2 separate regions of the Homo sapiens genome follow, and region 2 is linked to region 1. The links are contacts of gene promoters, found by promoter capture Hi-C in human tissues and cell types (Jung and others, 2019). All regions are on one chromosome and are shown on one strand. Each heading gives the region's core, a stretch centred on a gene start or on the middle of the fragment in contact. The rest is flanking DNA. Distances are from core to core; before and after follow the strand shown.

The links. The method cuts DNA at HindIII sites, captures the fragments that hold promoters and counts their contacts. A contact is called where the count stands out against the background at its distance.
Region 2: a fragment that was not itself captured here is called in contact with the fragment with the promoter of C3orf49 in region 1 in 1 of the 25 tissues and cell types used here (dorsolateral prefrontal cortex).

Annotation. Positions count from the first base shown.
Region 1 is chr3:63,814,926-63,822,253 of GRCh38, forward strand. C3orf49 (chromosome 3 open reading frame 49) reads left to right here and starts at 4,374. Exons shown (of 7, transcript NM_001355236.2): 1 at 4,374-4,671. The coding sequence starts at 4,547. RefSeq lists a silencer at 3,721-3,840. The HindIII fragment of the contact is 1,936 bases long and covers 3,149-5,084 here.
Region 2 is chr3:63,248,543-63,255,870 of GRCh38, forward strand. It overlaps a transcript of SYNPR not described here. Among named protein-coding and RNA genes, the nearest start is that of SYNPR, 26 kb to the right of the region's middle. The HindIII fragment of the contact is 7,290 bases long and covers 1-6,563 here.

The sequences.
Region 1 (7,328 bases), core at 3,124-5,623:
ATGGCACCAGCATCTGTTTTTTGGGAGGCCTCTGGAAGCTCACAATCCTGGCTGAAGGCGAAGTGGGAGCTTGCACATCACTACGTGAAAGCAGGGGCAAGAGAGAGAGCAGGGAGTGCCACGCACTTTTAAACAACCAGATCTTGCAAGAACTCACTTGCTATCACGAGGACAGTAACAGGGGATGCCACAAAACCATGGGTGAGAAACTGCCCCATGATCCAATCACTTCCCACCAGGCCCCACCTTCAACACTGGCAATTACATTTCAATATGAGATTTGGGCAGGGACACATATCCAAACTGTATCATCCCCTATATCCCAGTTCATTTCAGGGACACATATCCAAACTGTATCTCCCCCATATCCCAATTCATTTCAGTATTTAACTTCTTAAATATTGCCTGGATCTGCACACTTCTGGTACTCCTCACCCCCATCTGTTGCCGGCCTGGACCAAGTGCCTACCTAATGACTTTTCAACACTCACTTTTTCCTCTCCAATGTATTCTCCAAGCTGCACACAGCAACATTTTAAAAACGTATGCATAACTATGCCTTCCCCATGTCACCTATGTTCCCACCACATTGCTCTTCTTCCTGCCCTCAGACATGCCTGGTTTGCACCTGCATGTGAACCTTTGCTCATGTCGTTTTCTGTCTTTGAAATACCTCTCCCAGATCTCAGCATAGTTTGTCTCTTTTTCAACATTAAATGTCTCACTTCAAACACCACCTCCTTAAGAGATCTTTCTTGATGATTTTGGAGGAGTGCCCACTCCCAGTCACTTTCTACCACGTTTTTCTACTTTTTATTTGTTTGTTTTTTTCTTTTCTTTTCTTTCTTTTTTTTTTTTTTTTGACAGAGTCTTGCTCTGTCGCCAGGCTGGAGTGCAGTGGCCTGATCTCAGCTCACTGCATCCTCTGCCTCCTGGGTTCAAGCGAGGAGGCGTGAAGCCGGGAGGTTCTCCTCCCTCGTCCTCCTGAGTAGCTGGGATACAGGCGTGTGCCACCATGCCCAGCTAATTTTTCTATTTTTAGTAGAGACGGGGTTTCACCGTGTTGGCCAGGATGGTCTCGATCTCTTGACCTCGTGATCTGCCTGCCTCGGCCTCTCAAAGTGCCGGGATTACAGGCATGAGCCACCATGCCTGGCCTGTTTTTCTTTTTATTTATTTATTTTTAATTCTTTTTTCTTTGTTGATTTTGTTTTTTTTTTTCTATTTGTCTCATAGCATACTTTGTCAGTACCTGAAACAATTTTCTATTGGTTAACATATTGGTGTCTGTGTCCTCCACTAGAATTGTAATTCCTGGGCAAGGATTTTAGTCATTTTCTTCACAACTGAATTCCATTTCCCTGAATAAATATATGAACAAGTTCCCTAAAAACCCTCAGTAAGGCTGTAATCCCAGCACTTTGGGAGGCTGAGGCAGGTGGATCACCTGAGCTCAGGAGTTCCAGACCAGCCTGAGCAACACGGTGAAACCTCGTCTCTACTAAAAATACAAAAAATTAGCTGGGCGTGGTGGCACGTGCCTGTAACCCCAGCTACTCAGGAGGCACAAGAATCGCTTGAACCCAGAAGGTAGAGGTTGCAGTGAGCGTGGTGCCACTGCACTCCAGCCTGGGTGACAGAGTAAGATGCTGTTTAAACAACAACAACAACAACAAACAAACCAAAAAAACCTCAACAACTCCCCATTGCTCTGAAGATCAAGACCAAAACCTTTAATTTGATCTATAGGACTCAAGAGATTTGGTCCTCCCTCCAGCTTATCACACACATCTACCTCTTTGCTCCAGCCACCCTAGCTTTCTTCCACATTTTCTTTTCTTTTCTTTTTTTTTTTTTTTTTTTGTGAGACAGAATCTTGCTCTGTCGCCCAGGCTGGAGTGCAGTGGCGCGATCTCGGCTCACTGCAAGCTCTGCCTCCCGTGTTCACGCCATTCTCCTGCCTCAACCTCCTGAGTAGCTGGGACTACAGGCACCCGTTACCACGCCCGGCTAATTTTTTTGTATTTTTAGTAGAGATGGGGGTTTCACCACGTTAGGCAGGATGTTCTCGATCTCCTGCTCTCGTGATCCACCCACCTCGGCCTCCCAAAGTGCTGGGATTACAGGCGTGAGCCATCGCACCTGACCGCTTTCTTCCACATTTTCAAAGACACTGGGCTTCTTCCACCTCCGGGCTTTGGCACATGCTGTTTCATCTGCCTGGGTCACACAAATTTTCACACGATTGGCTCTTTTCCCCGTTCAGCATTCAGGACCAATGACCTCATTGGACAGGCTTTCCTAACGCTCCATCTAAAGTCACTCCTCATCCTCAGTCACTCTATCCCATCATCCTCTTTTACTTTTTTCATAACATTTACTACCAGCTGAAATTAAAATGTTCATTTCCTTGTTACCTGCATCTCCCACAGCATATTAAGTTATATGAGTTCAGAGATTTTGTGTATGTTGTTCACTGCAGTATCCCTGGTGTCTAGGGTGGTGTCTAGGGTGGTGCCTGGGAACCACTAGGCATTCAAATATTTGTTAAATAACTGAATGACTCAAAGAAGCTTGGGAGGTAGCAGTTATTACTCCTGTTTTACGAACGAGAAAATGAAGGTCCAAAGAGGTTTTCGTTACCCGCCCAAGGACCCATAAGCTTGGAAGGGGTAGATCTAGAATGTAAATCCAGACACAGCTCAAAATTGATGTCTCTCTATACTCTAACTCTTTCCCCACCCCCTTCCCACTCCTTCTAGTTCTGTCATCTGCTTCAGGACTCCTTTGGGAACCTACAAGTTTTGTCACAGATGCCACAGCAGCAAGTGTTTCAGCCTATTACATACACACATACATGCAGACATGCACACACAGAGACATGTACATAGACACCCATGCACAAATAAAAAACAGCTGTCTTTCCTAGCATAAAATTCATCTCATTCATCTAGATAATTGATGAAATACAACAGAATTAAGGCAGGAGTGCCAATAATTGCATGAAAAATATTGCCCTGTTGCTAAAGAAAATATTCATGTATTCATTTATTCAAGCACCTATTATTTATTGTGCTCTGAGGATGCCAACAGATGAGGAAAAACAGACCAGGGAGGAGCATATGTCCATTTGGCCAAGGCATATTAGATATGCTCTACTTCAGCGTTTCTCAAATAAGGGACAGAGGAACATCTGCACCCACTCTCCTAGAATATGGATTCCTGGGTCTCATTCCCTGCTGAAGCGGAATTTCTATTTCACTTGAATTTTGCCATAAAACTATGGCTTGGGCACTATGAGTTGTCCCACTTTAGGGATGAGAAAACAAGCATGGGTGGGTTAAAATGAATTGGCCAAGGTCACATAGCTAAGCTAGAAATGAGAACTCATGCATAATTCCCAAATCCACTCTCTTAGCCCCTTAACATTATACACTTCATTCTAGACCATTTTAAAGCTCTTTTCCCCAGTACTGAAACATACAAGACCCTCACTACTCCAAGTGCAGTCTGGCATCATCAGCGTCACCTGCGGGTTTGTTAGGAGTGCAAATTCTTGGATCCCAGCCCAGATGTACTGTATCGAAATCTGCATCTTAAAAAGACCTCCAGGAAGTTTGTGTGCACTTGAAAGCTTGAGAAGTATGCTCCAGATTATTGATTAATGCAAACACAGAAAGCAGAGTAATTCTTGTAACTCCCAGAACCTTTCTAGAGGAGTTTTTCTTGTTAAGCATCTAGTTATTTGACTGAACAACTCAAACCGCGAGAGGGTAACAGGAATAAATCCTAGTGTCTGCTGCCACCTTGTGGTGAGAAGTTCCATCACAGGCAGAATTCGCTCTTCACCACGAAATAAATGGGGCAATGTTGGAAGGGAGGGGTGGATCAGGTCCTCAATTTAGCAATGTACTTTGAGAGACCACTGCAAAATTCCAAGATGTAATGAAAACCACCCTTGGGGTACATTTTGAGATGTCCAAACAACAACTGGCCTTGTCATATGTGTCCCACAGGACACAGAGAACATTCACCAGCTGTAACTGAGAGATCTAACAGAAGCTCAACTTGTGTTAATCAGCGTATCGTTGGTATTCCTATAGGTCCCTACCACTTCAGAGTTCAAATACGCACTTCTGAATGTGGTGGTCAATTAGTGTGTGGGTGTTTTTTGTTGTTGTTGTTGTTGTTTGATTTTTTTTTTCTATCCAAATGCCAGCATTGAGGCAATCAGATCATCATTTCTGTATTTGCCTTGTTCAAGAATCTGTGAAGTGTTCCACAAAGGTCCATGGAATTTCACACAGCTCTGTCAAATACATCACTGGTGACCTCTGTGAAGTTGTAAACAGGGCCAGTCCCACAAATAATGTCTCTAACACCTGGAAGGGAATAAGGGAAAGACTCTAAAAATTTCCTACATATTTTATTCCGAATAGCCCACACCTTGACAGTACATTCAGTCACTGGATGATTTTGTATTGAAGTCTGTAAGTTCAAGAACTAAAACAATCCAAAACGGCTACTACAGGTGAAGTTGAGAGCAATGGCCCAACCTCAGCTGTATCTACCAGAACCCTTTAAGATTGCCTACAGAAAAGTTGGACAGTGCCGAAGATTCCAGCAACTCAAGAAGAAAAATGGCTCATTCAAAAGGAAGGGGATAGAAAGGTAACAGAGATTCATTTCCTTTTCTGTCAAATGAGAGTCTTTGGGTTTGGCATAGTGGCATGTCCTTTTAAGCATTGCATTTAGGAATGAGGACTCTGGATGGATTGGCGGGGAGGGTACTGCGTTGGATCAAGAAATCTAGTGTGACAATGTAAGCTTCATTTTATGATCAGAAACATCTTAATTGTAACAGGGAAAACCTTTCCTTTCCACTCGAAATTAAGTTTCAATGTGGCATAGGAGACTAAAATAAGTTCTGATCCTATGTTGATATTTCAGCATCAGAATTTTGGACATCTCACATCCCGTGAAAATACTATTATTTTGAAAAGTCATTAGTGCATTCTTCGAAATAGGTCCACGATCAGTGCTTTCTTTCTCCTATCCCAGCAATTTGGGCTGCTGAAATATGTACTAATCACATTTCACTATGGACACATTGTTTAATGTAACGTTAAAACTGCCTTAGACTTGCTATTTTTTTGCCAATGACAAAACCATATAGACAGGTATGAAACATCCAAAATATAATATATTTTAATTTGGAAAGTCAGTGTGGTGATTTATTTTCCAATTTCTTTGGGCTTCTCTCTTACCAGGTCCATGGGCTATAGTTCAGACATGTAGAAGTGAGGTGTTTTAATGAGTCCTGGAAGCATCAAAGACCAAGCTTGTGAACTTCCATGGACAAAATAAAATACTGCAGAGATTTCCACTTTCAATGAAAAGTAGGCACTCCGGGGGAAGCAATACAACCAAATAAATTCAGTACCAACACAAAAATATTTAAAAACTTAAGAAGGGGAGGGTTCTGCTCATATCAGAAATTGCAGCAGTGTGTTCCTAGGCTCTGGAGCTAAATCACCTTTGTTAATTATGTTCTAGATAGATTGGGGATGAGAGTGGGGAGGATGGGAATGGGAAACACCTTCTAGAGATTCTGAGACCACTTAGAACTGGGCTTTTAACATGGGTGGTCTTCAAAATTCCTGAATCTCCTGAAACTGTATTTGCATTGTTCTGTGTCACAGTATGTGTATGTGTGTACATGTTTATAGTAGTAGAATCACTTAAAAATTAAATTATTATTAAAGGAGTCTCAGAGGGGTCTACGGGAGATTAATCCTACCCATAAGTTATCTCTGGGTGAATTAGGAAATGGTGCTCCCTCCTCAGGACATTTTACTGCCATCTGCCAGAAAATCATTATAATAACTATACACAAGTCTAAGGATGAAATTGAATAGCACCCCCTAGAAGTCATATATGTACATTTTGCAGAACCCTGCCCTTGGTCCCAGAAGGGAGGCTGCTAGCTTCTCCCTTATTTTGCCCTCTAGTGTGGGCTCCCTGCTTGCCTTTTAAGTTAATGGATTTTCCCCATAAGTTAATGGCTTTTCCCCACTGTTCTGATCCACATGGTAATAAAAAGTATCATTTATGGAATGCTTTTTAAGGTTCCAAACACATGAATTATTTCCTTTTATTTTCATAATTCTGAAAAGATTATGCCCATTTTCAAATGAGAAGACCAAAGCTTATAGAGGTTACATGACATGCCCAAGGTCACAGAGTTAGGAATTGTCCTGAGTTAAACCAATACCATTCAACTCCAGTGTCTAGGCTGTCACTGAACCACTTCCCATATATAATTACAGAAAAAGGCTGAATGATTTGGGTTCTGTTTAGAACAGTGTTTTCCTGGAGAGTAGTACATATGCTACTGATGGTACATGAGATATTTTAGGTAATATATGAAGAACATTGTTAATGGTTATAAATTTGTTTTAATCCATATTAGAAATATATGTTATATATTTAATACAACGTAATAGCATAATATAAAACCTGGGATTTCACCCAGAGAAATGAAAACTTATGTTCATACAAAACCTATAGATAAATGTTTATAGCAGCTTTATTCATAATAGCCCCAAACTGGAAACAACCCAAGTATCCTTCAATCAGTGAATAGTTAAACAAAGTGTGGTACATTCACATCATGGACTATTACTCAGCAATAAAAAGATATGAACAATTAATACACAAAATCTGGATGAATGCCCAAAGAATTATGCTGAGTGAAAAAAAGCATATCTCAAAAAATTACATGATGTATATTTCCATTTACATAACATTCTTGAAAGGACGAGAATTACGCAAACAGAAGACAGATTCGTAGATGCCGGTTTAAGAAAGGGGGGACCAGTGGATAGTGGATGTGGCTATAAAACATGAGGGATCCTGGTGTTACTGGAAATGTTCTGTATTCTGACTGTTTCAGTGTCAATATGCTGGTTGTGAAAATATAGTTTTGCAAGATGTCATCATTTGGGGAAACTAGGTAAAGAGCACACAGAATCTCCCTGTATTTCTTTCTTTTTTTTTTGTTTTTTTGAGACAGAGTCTCGCTCTGTCGCCCAGGCTGGATTGCAGTGGCGCGATCTCGGCTCACTGCAAGCTCTGCCTCCCGGGTTCACAACATTCTCCTGCCTCAGCCTCCCAAGTAGCTGGGACTACAGGCGCCCGCCACCACGCCTAACTAATGTTTTGTGTTTTTAGTAGAGACAGGGTTTCACCGTGTTAGCCAGGATGGTCTCGATCTCCTGACCTCGTGATCCGCCTGCTTCGGCCTCCCAAAGTGCTGGGATTACAGG
Region 2 (7,328 bases), core at 1,669-4,168, 570 kb before region 1:
ATCGAGGTGTTGAGAAAAAATTAATCATGCAGTTGGTAATCAGTACTCATTTGTTCATTCTGAAGTTTATATGTGTGTTCTTTTAGCTTCTCTTTGTGGAGTTCTATCGATTGTTGTGGAAACTGTTTGAGACAGTGACAACATAAGATATGTGAAATAGATGCTCTGCAACATTTGAATTGAAACCAAAATCCATTGTGCTAATTAGTTATTGGAATCTTGGCATAATTACACATGCTCAAGGGACATTCACTGATTACGTTAGCTGTCTCTCATGGCTGCTATCATGTGAGTATTAGAACAAATCCCATTTTGATGAGAATTAGCTCTGCATTTGCAGTGTGAAGATATGATAACATTGTCAACGCATAATTGTTAGCTCTGTGTTAGTGACTCAGTTTTTCATCCTCAGTTTTGTTTTTTTTACCTATCCCTATATAATATTCAGTTGCTGTCAAATGAAGGAGAAACTGGGAAGTAGTTGCCTTAAATTCTGTGTAATTTGCCTTCCCAAACAAAAGTAAATAAATATATGATTTTTAAAATTCTATTTAATGCACTTTAAGATTATGTAACAAAACATTTTGCACATCAGTAAGGAGTTCAGGGAATGTAAGACGCAAAAGGCCAGAATATCTGTGAGAATATGTTCAATCACTCGTATAACTAAAGACATGGAAAATCAGAAAACCAAGAGATCATATTTTCAGCTATCAGAGTGAAAGAAGTTTAAATATGTGATAAACCCTAGAAAATGAAGCTATGGAGAGACAGGCACTTCTATACAAGATTGCGATAGTGTAGTCTTTTTGAAGGGGAGATGTGGTGATATTCATCAATATTTTAAAAACACTTACCCTTTGTCCCAGGAATTCCAATGCTAGGATTTTTATTGTCTATATTCTTACATAAATTCTTAAGCTATGTGGGCAAGGATGTTAATTGGAGCTAAGCTATGAGGATGCAAAGGTATAAGAATAATACAATGGACTTTGGGGAATTAGAAGAAAGAGTGGGAGGGGGCGAGGGATAAAAGACTACAGATATGTGCAGTGTACACTGCTCGGGTGATGGGCACAACAAAATCTCACAGATCACCTCTGAAGAACTTACTCATGTAACCAAATACCACCTGTACCCCAATAACTTATGGAAAAATAATTACAACAAAAATGGAAACAACATAAGTGACTTCCTGTAGGGAATCATAAATAGGACATATATACGTGTAATAAGGTAACATTCTGTAATGTCAGCTTTTTTATTTTTTGCTTGAATTTTTTTCAGCTGGTATATTGATTGCATGCCTTGCTTTGGGGGATGAATGACACAGCAGAATGCAAATAACACATAAATAGAGAATGTCTGGCTTTTGAGTTCCAAAAGCCTAGACTCTGACATCAAGAAAATATTTGGAAGCTTGAACAGTGAATAAGAGAAACTTACCTACCTGCAACCATGGATTAAAAATTCCCTGGCCCAGAAGGGTAAGGAAGAGGGGAGAATAGGGAGAAGTTAGTTAACAGATACAAAATTACATATAGCTGGGAGGAATAGGTTCTAGGGTTCTATAGCATTGTAGGATAAATATGGCTAACCATAAATCATTGTATATTTTCAAAAAAGCTGGAAGAAAGAATTATGAATGTTCAGACCACAAAGGAATTGTAAATGTTTGAGGTAATGGATATGCTAATTGCTCTGGTTTGATATACATGTATCAAAATACCAGTCAGTATCTCATGCATATGTACAATTATTACATGTCAACTAAAAATACAAGGAAAATAAATAAAATAAAATAAAATAAAAATAAAATTATCCAAGATCTCCACGCCTGGGGCAATTATTCATTCCTAACAGGACTGAAAAATAGAAACTAGCCTTTCTGAAGTGCCTGCTATATACCAGGCACTTTTACATATCCATATTTCATTAAGGGAATCCTCACACAACTTTTTGGGAGAGAGCTCTTACGAGTCCCAGTTTTAATGATGTCTGAGAACAAGTCTAAGGTGACATGGTCAACATGTGGTTAGTAGGTGCCATAAGTGGAATCCAAATTTTGGTGTATTTTACACAAAACATTTTCTTTAATTGAGGAAAACTCTATAAGCTAGGTATGATTTTAGCTTAAATTTAAAGATGAGGAAAATGAGTCTCACAGAGACCAAGACTGCACAGTCAGAAAGTGACAGAGCCAGAATTACAACTCAGACTGCCTGTAGAGTTCACGTTAACCATGATGTCAACCTGCCTACTCAGACTTTTGGTTCAAGATGATGTGCTGAGCATGTGTTTAAGCTTCTGATCCATCCTATGGACCCATTAAATTAATGTTACTCATTATAAGTATTTTTTTGGCTGTTTTCTTTTTTTTAGCTATGGAAACTAGTATTTTGATAAAGACTTAAAAGTAAATAGAAGCATAACACTTAAAATTACAATAGAAACCACCAAAAGAACAAAAATAAGAAACTGTTAAAAGTTGTGGTCTCTGGGGAGTGGGACAGAAAGGAAAAATTTACTTTTTATTTCACATATTTTGAACTTTGTACTACTGGGTACATTTTCTGCATCTATATTGTTTCGTTCAGAGAAAAAAATTAAAGAAAGCAAAAATAAAACAAGGAAATTGAAGGACGAAAGAAGAAATAAATATGCATGAAATTCCACACAATAGAATATTAAGCAGCTGCCCAAAAGATGGGGACAGATTTATTGTCCTGCCACGAAAAAGTCTCTAAGACATATTGCTAAATAAAAAAATAATCCTGGTATCAAAAAAAAAATCCCTGGGTTGGGAGAAGAGGAGTTAGAAGGAAAGCATATATGTGCCCCAGAAAGGAGCCTTCAATTTAAGACTGAATTCAGGGGTTCAAGAGTGGGAGGTAATGAAGTCTGAGAGAAAAGAAAACTTGCTTCTTGTTTTTGCCTGGAAAATGACAAGATCCACAATTTTGGCAGTGTCCTGACATAATGCTGAAAGAATAGAGTAGGAAGAGCTGTGTGGTGTAACTAAAATCTGACAGAGCTTGCAAGATTTCCCCCAAATCCAGCATGGCAGAGTAATTCCCTGTGTCTGAGAGCAACGTAGACATATCAAAGAGATCTGCAGGTTCTGACAGGACTGAAATGCGATCCCGGGATGATCAGCAAAGATCTACGTAATCAGTGACCGAGGACCAGATAGGACAATACACACCTCTGCATCCGTCTGCTTGGAAAGACAACAACCAAGGAGAAGATGCCATACTCATGCCCTATACCCTCTGTTCTATATAAACCTCAGGTAACTCAGACAAATGCCATGAAGGAAAACCCTGAACTCACACAGATCACGTTTTGACTACTCAGGAGAATAGAATCCTAAGATAAAATCAGGTTGAGTAAAAGAAAAATAAAGGCAATTAAATGTCTTCCATACTTGAGTTAGTGAAATGAGATAGTCTCTATCAATTTAATAGATACATAATACTCCATGGTATGGGGGTACCATGGAGTATTATGTATCTATTAAAAATAAAGAGGCAAGTAAATATACTCTGATATAAAAGATCTGCAAGATAAATTTTAAATTAAAAAAGACAAGGTGAAGAACAATTTGAATAATGTGTATTCTATTTGCAGAAAAATGCTATGTGTTCTAAATGTTTCAAGGATATGAATGACACAGTCAACTGTGAATTTCTCTAGAGACTGAGATGTTTCATTTCATATTATTTTATAAAGGTTTCTTATAAACTAAAATCACGTATTCCTTTTATAATACATAATAAAATATCCTTCTTGTCTTTACATCATGTTTAGTGATCCATTACATTGAATTTGAATTCCATTTATGAAGCATTTATTTCTATAATTTCAGAATAAAGGATGAAAACATTGTGTCTTAAATATTTTTTGGCTGTAGCATAAATCTGCCAGAGAGAATTAATTTCGTTTTCTTTTTTCAGTTACAAAGAGTGTTACACTGCGCCTTTAAGGAAAACTTTCCTTCATCATTCCTGTAAGCGTGGACATGCAACTTCTCTCACCACAAAGGTACAGAAAACATTTCTAAAAATGTGCTGATAACAGAACAAGGAGGCATGATTTGAAAAGCTGCACAAAATCCTGCGTTTTCATACCCCCTAGCATATGGTCATGCATGCAGTTAATGGACACTGAGCAAATCACCAGAATTTATATATGCAGATAAGAATGGTTCCATTCAGGCTGGGCACAGGGGCTCATGCCTGTAATCTTAGCACGTTGGGTGGCTGAGGAGGGCAGATCACCTGAGGTCAGGAGTTCAAGACCAGCCTGGCCAACATGGTGAAACTGTCTCTACTAAAAATACAAAAATTATCCAGGCATGGTAGCGCTCGCCTGTAGTCCCAGCTACTTGGGAGGCTGAGGTGGGAGGATTGCTTGAAATGGGGAGGTGGAGGTTGCAGTGAGCTGAGATTATGTGACTGCACTCCAGCCTGGGTGACAGAGTGAGACTCTGTCTCAGAAAAAAAAAAAAAAAAAGAATAGTTCCATTTTTCTTTTTCAGTTATTCTAAACCACTGAAAATATTTGGCAAGTCCATTTATAGAACTGTTTTTAGAGTTTATGGCACATTCTTTTGAATGTTCAGATGCCAAATAATCACCATTTGAGGGTGGATTTAAATTTTAATAGCAGCTAAAGGCCATTTAGAGTCAAGTATGGTAAATAAGAAAGTCACTCAATTTGGATAATAAATTCACAGTAAAAAAAAATACATATATAGTAACTACAAAACATGATTGTTCTCCAAGCTCTGAAGGAAACAATGTCATATCCTCCAAAACAAACTCTTGAATGTTTTAAACAACTGTAGCATCATTTGGACAACTGCATTGCCTTCCTAAAGACTACCTTGAAATAATAATTTTGATGAATAAATCCTAGTCTGTTAAAAATAAGCCTAACTGATTTATAGCAGCATTCTATATATTGTATTTGTTTAAAAATATTGATGTATAAGATTTTTAAATAAAAGATACATGAAAAAATGCTTATCATCACTGGCCATCAGAGAAATGCAAATCAAAATCACAATGAGATACCATCTCACACCAGTTAGAATGGCGATCATTAAAAAGTCAGGAAACTACAGGTGCTGGAGAGGATGTGGAGAAATAAGAACACTTTTACACTGTTGGTGGGACTGTAAACTAGTTCAATCATTGTGGAAGTCAGTGTGGCGATTCCTCAGGGATCTAGAACTAGAAATACCATTTGACCCAGCCATCTCATTACTGAGTATATACCCAAAGGATTATAAAACATGCTACTGTAAAGACACATGCATATGTATGTTTATTGCGGCACTATTCACAATAGCAAAGACTTGGAACCAACCCAAATGTCCAACAATGATAGACTGGATTAAGAAAATGTGGCACATATACACCATGGAATACTATGAAGCCATAAAAAATGATGAGTTCCTGTCCTTTGTAGGGACATGGATGAAGCTGGAAACCATCATTCTCAGCAAACTATCGCAAGGACAAAAAAACCAAACACCGCATGTTCTCACTCATAGGTGGGAATTGAACAATGAGAACACATGGACACAGGAAGGGGAACATCACACACCGGGGCGTGTTGTGGGGTGGGGGGAGAGGGAAGGGATAGCATTAGGAGATATACCTAATGTTAAATGACGAGATAATGGGTGCAGCACAACAACATGGCACATGTATACATATGTAACAAACCTGTACGTTGTGCACATGTACCCTAAAACTTAAAGTATAATAATTAAAAAAACATTTTAAAGCTGGTTAATACTTTAAATCAGCACTTTTAAAACTGTAGGTCAAGATCTACTAGTACGTCGTGAGATCAATTTAGTAGTTGCAACCAACATTAAAAAATTAGAAGAGAAAATAACAGACTACATCATAAGCTGCTGCACTATTATTTTATCAAAATTGTTTCAGTTAAACAATTTTATGATATATTATGTATTTAGTGAAAATTTATTGAGCACTGAGTACGTGTTAGACCAAGGTTTTAGACAAGGGTCTTGCAATTGTGGGAATTTCAAGCCAGATAATTTTTTATTGTGTATATGATTGGTGGGGAAGGGGGTCTGTCATATGCATTATAGGACGTTTAGCAGCATCCTTGGTACTATGGGCCGAATTGTGTTCCTCCAAAATTTGTACGTTGGAGTCCTAATCCCTAGTACCTTGGAATGTATTTGGACACAGAGTCTTTAAAGAGGTAATTAAGTTATGTATAATTTACATATAATTAAGTTATAATGAAAGCATTAGGGTGGGCCCTAATCCAATATAAATGGTCTTCTTATAAGAATGGCCCAGACAGGAACAGAGGGAAGATCATGTGAAGACACAGGGAGAAGATGGCCATCCATGGAAGAGGCCAAGGAGAGAGGCCTCAAAAGAAACCTGCCTTTAGACACCTTGATCTTGGACTTGCAGCCTTCACAACAGCGAGAAAATACATTTCTGTTCAAGATCACCAGTCCATGGTACTTTGTTATGGCAGCCCTTGTTGGTTTTTACCCACTGGGTGATAGTAGCACACCTTCCCCTGTCGTGACAAACAAACATCTCTCCAGACATTACCAAAAATTCTCCTGGGGAGGCGGTCAAATAACCTCCAGCTTGAGAACCATCACCTAGACATATCTGATTGTACTGCTAATAATATTTAAGTGAGTTTCTCATTGTGTGTTGCTGTCAAAAAACTTGAAAATTTCCAGCTTTCAACCCTGCCACAACACTCTGGGACATAATGATTGGGTGGCAGATGTACTAAGATATTGATGATCCTTTAGCCTGAATAGCCTAGAAAGACGGTATCCCTGGGCCTGCCATGTCAGGCCTTGAACCAGTTATGCCAAGGTACTACACAAATACAAATTTTATGTATGCTGTGAAGGAAAAAAGGCTGAGTAATACTGATTTATGATACTCCCTTTCACTTTTTAGATGGGCAAAATGTGAAGTAACTTAGTTAAATAATCATTTGCTATCATTCATTCCATCAGTGGCAGAGGTGAGATTAATAACTCATGACTTGAGGAGGAGCCAAGATGGCCAAATAGGAACAGCTCCAGTCTACAGCTCCCAGTGTGAGCGACGCAGAAGATGGGTGATTTCTGCATTCCCAACTGAGGTACCAGGTTCATCTCAATGGGAAGTGTCAGACAGTGGGTGAAGGACAGTGGGTGCAGTGCACCGAGTGTGAGCAGGAAGTGCAAGGGGTCAGGGAATTCCCTTTCCTAGTCAAAAAAAGGGGTGACAGATGGCACCTGGAAAACCGGGTCACTCCCACCC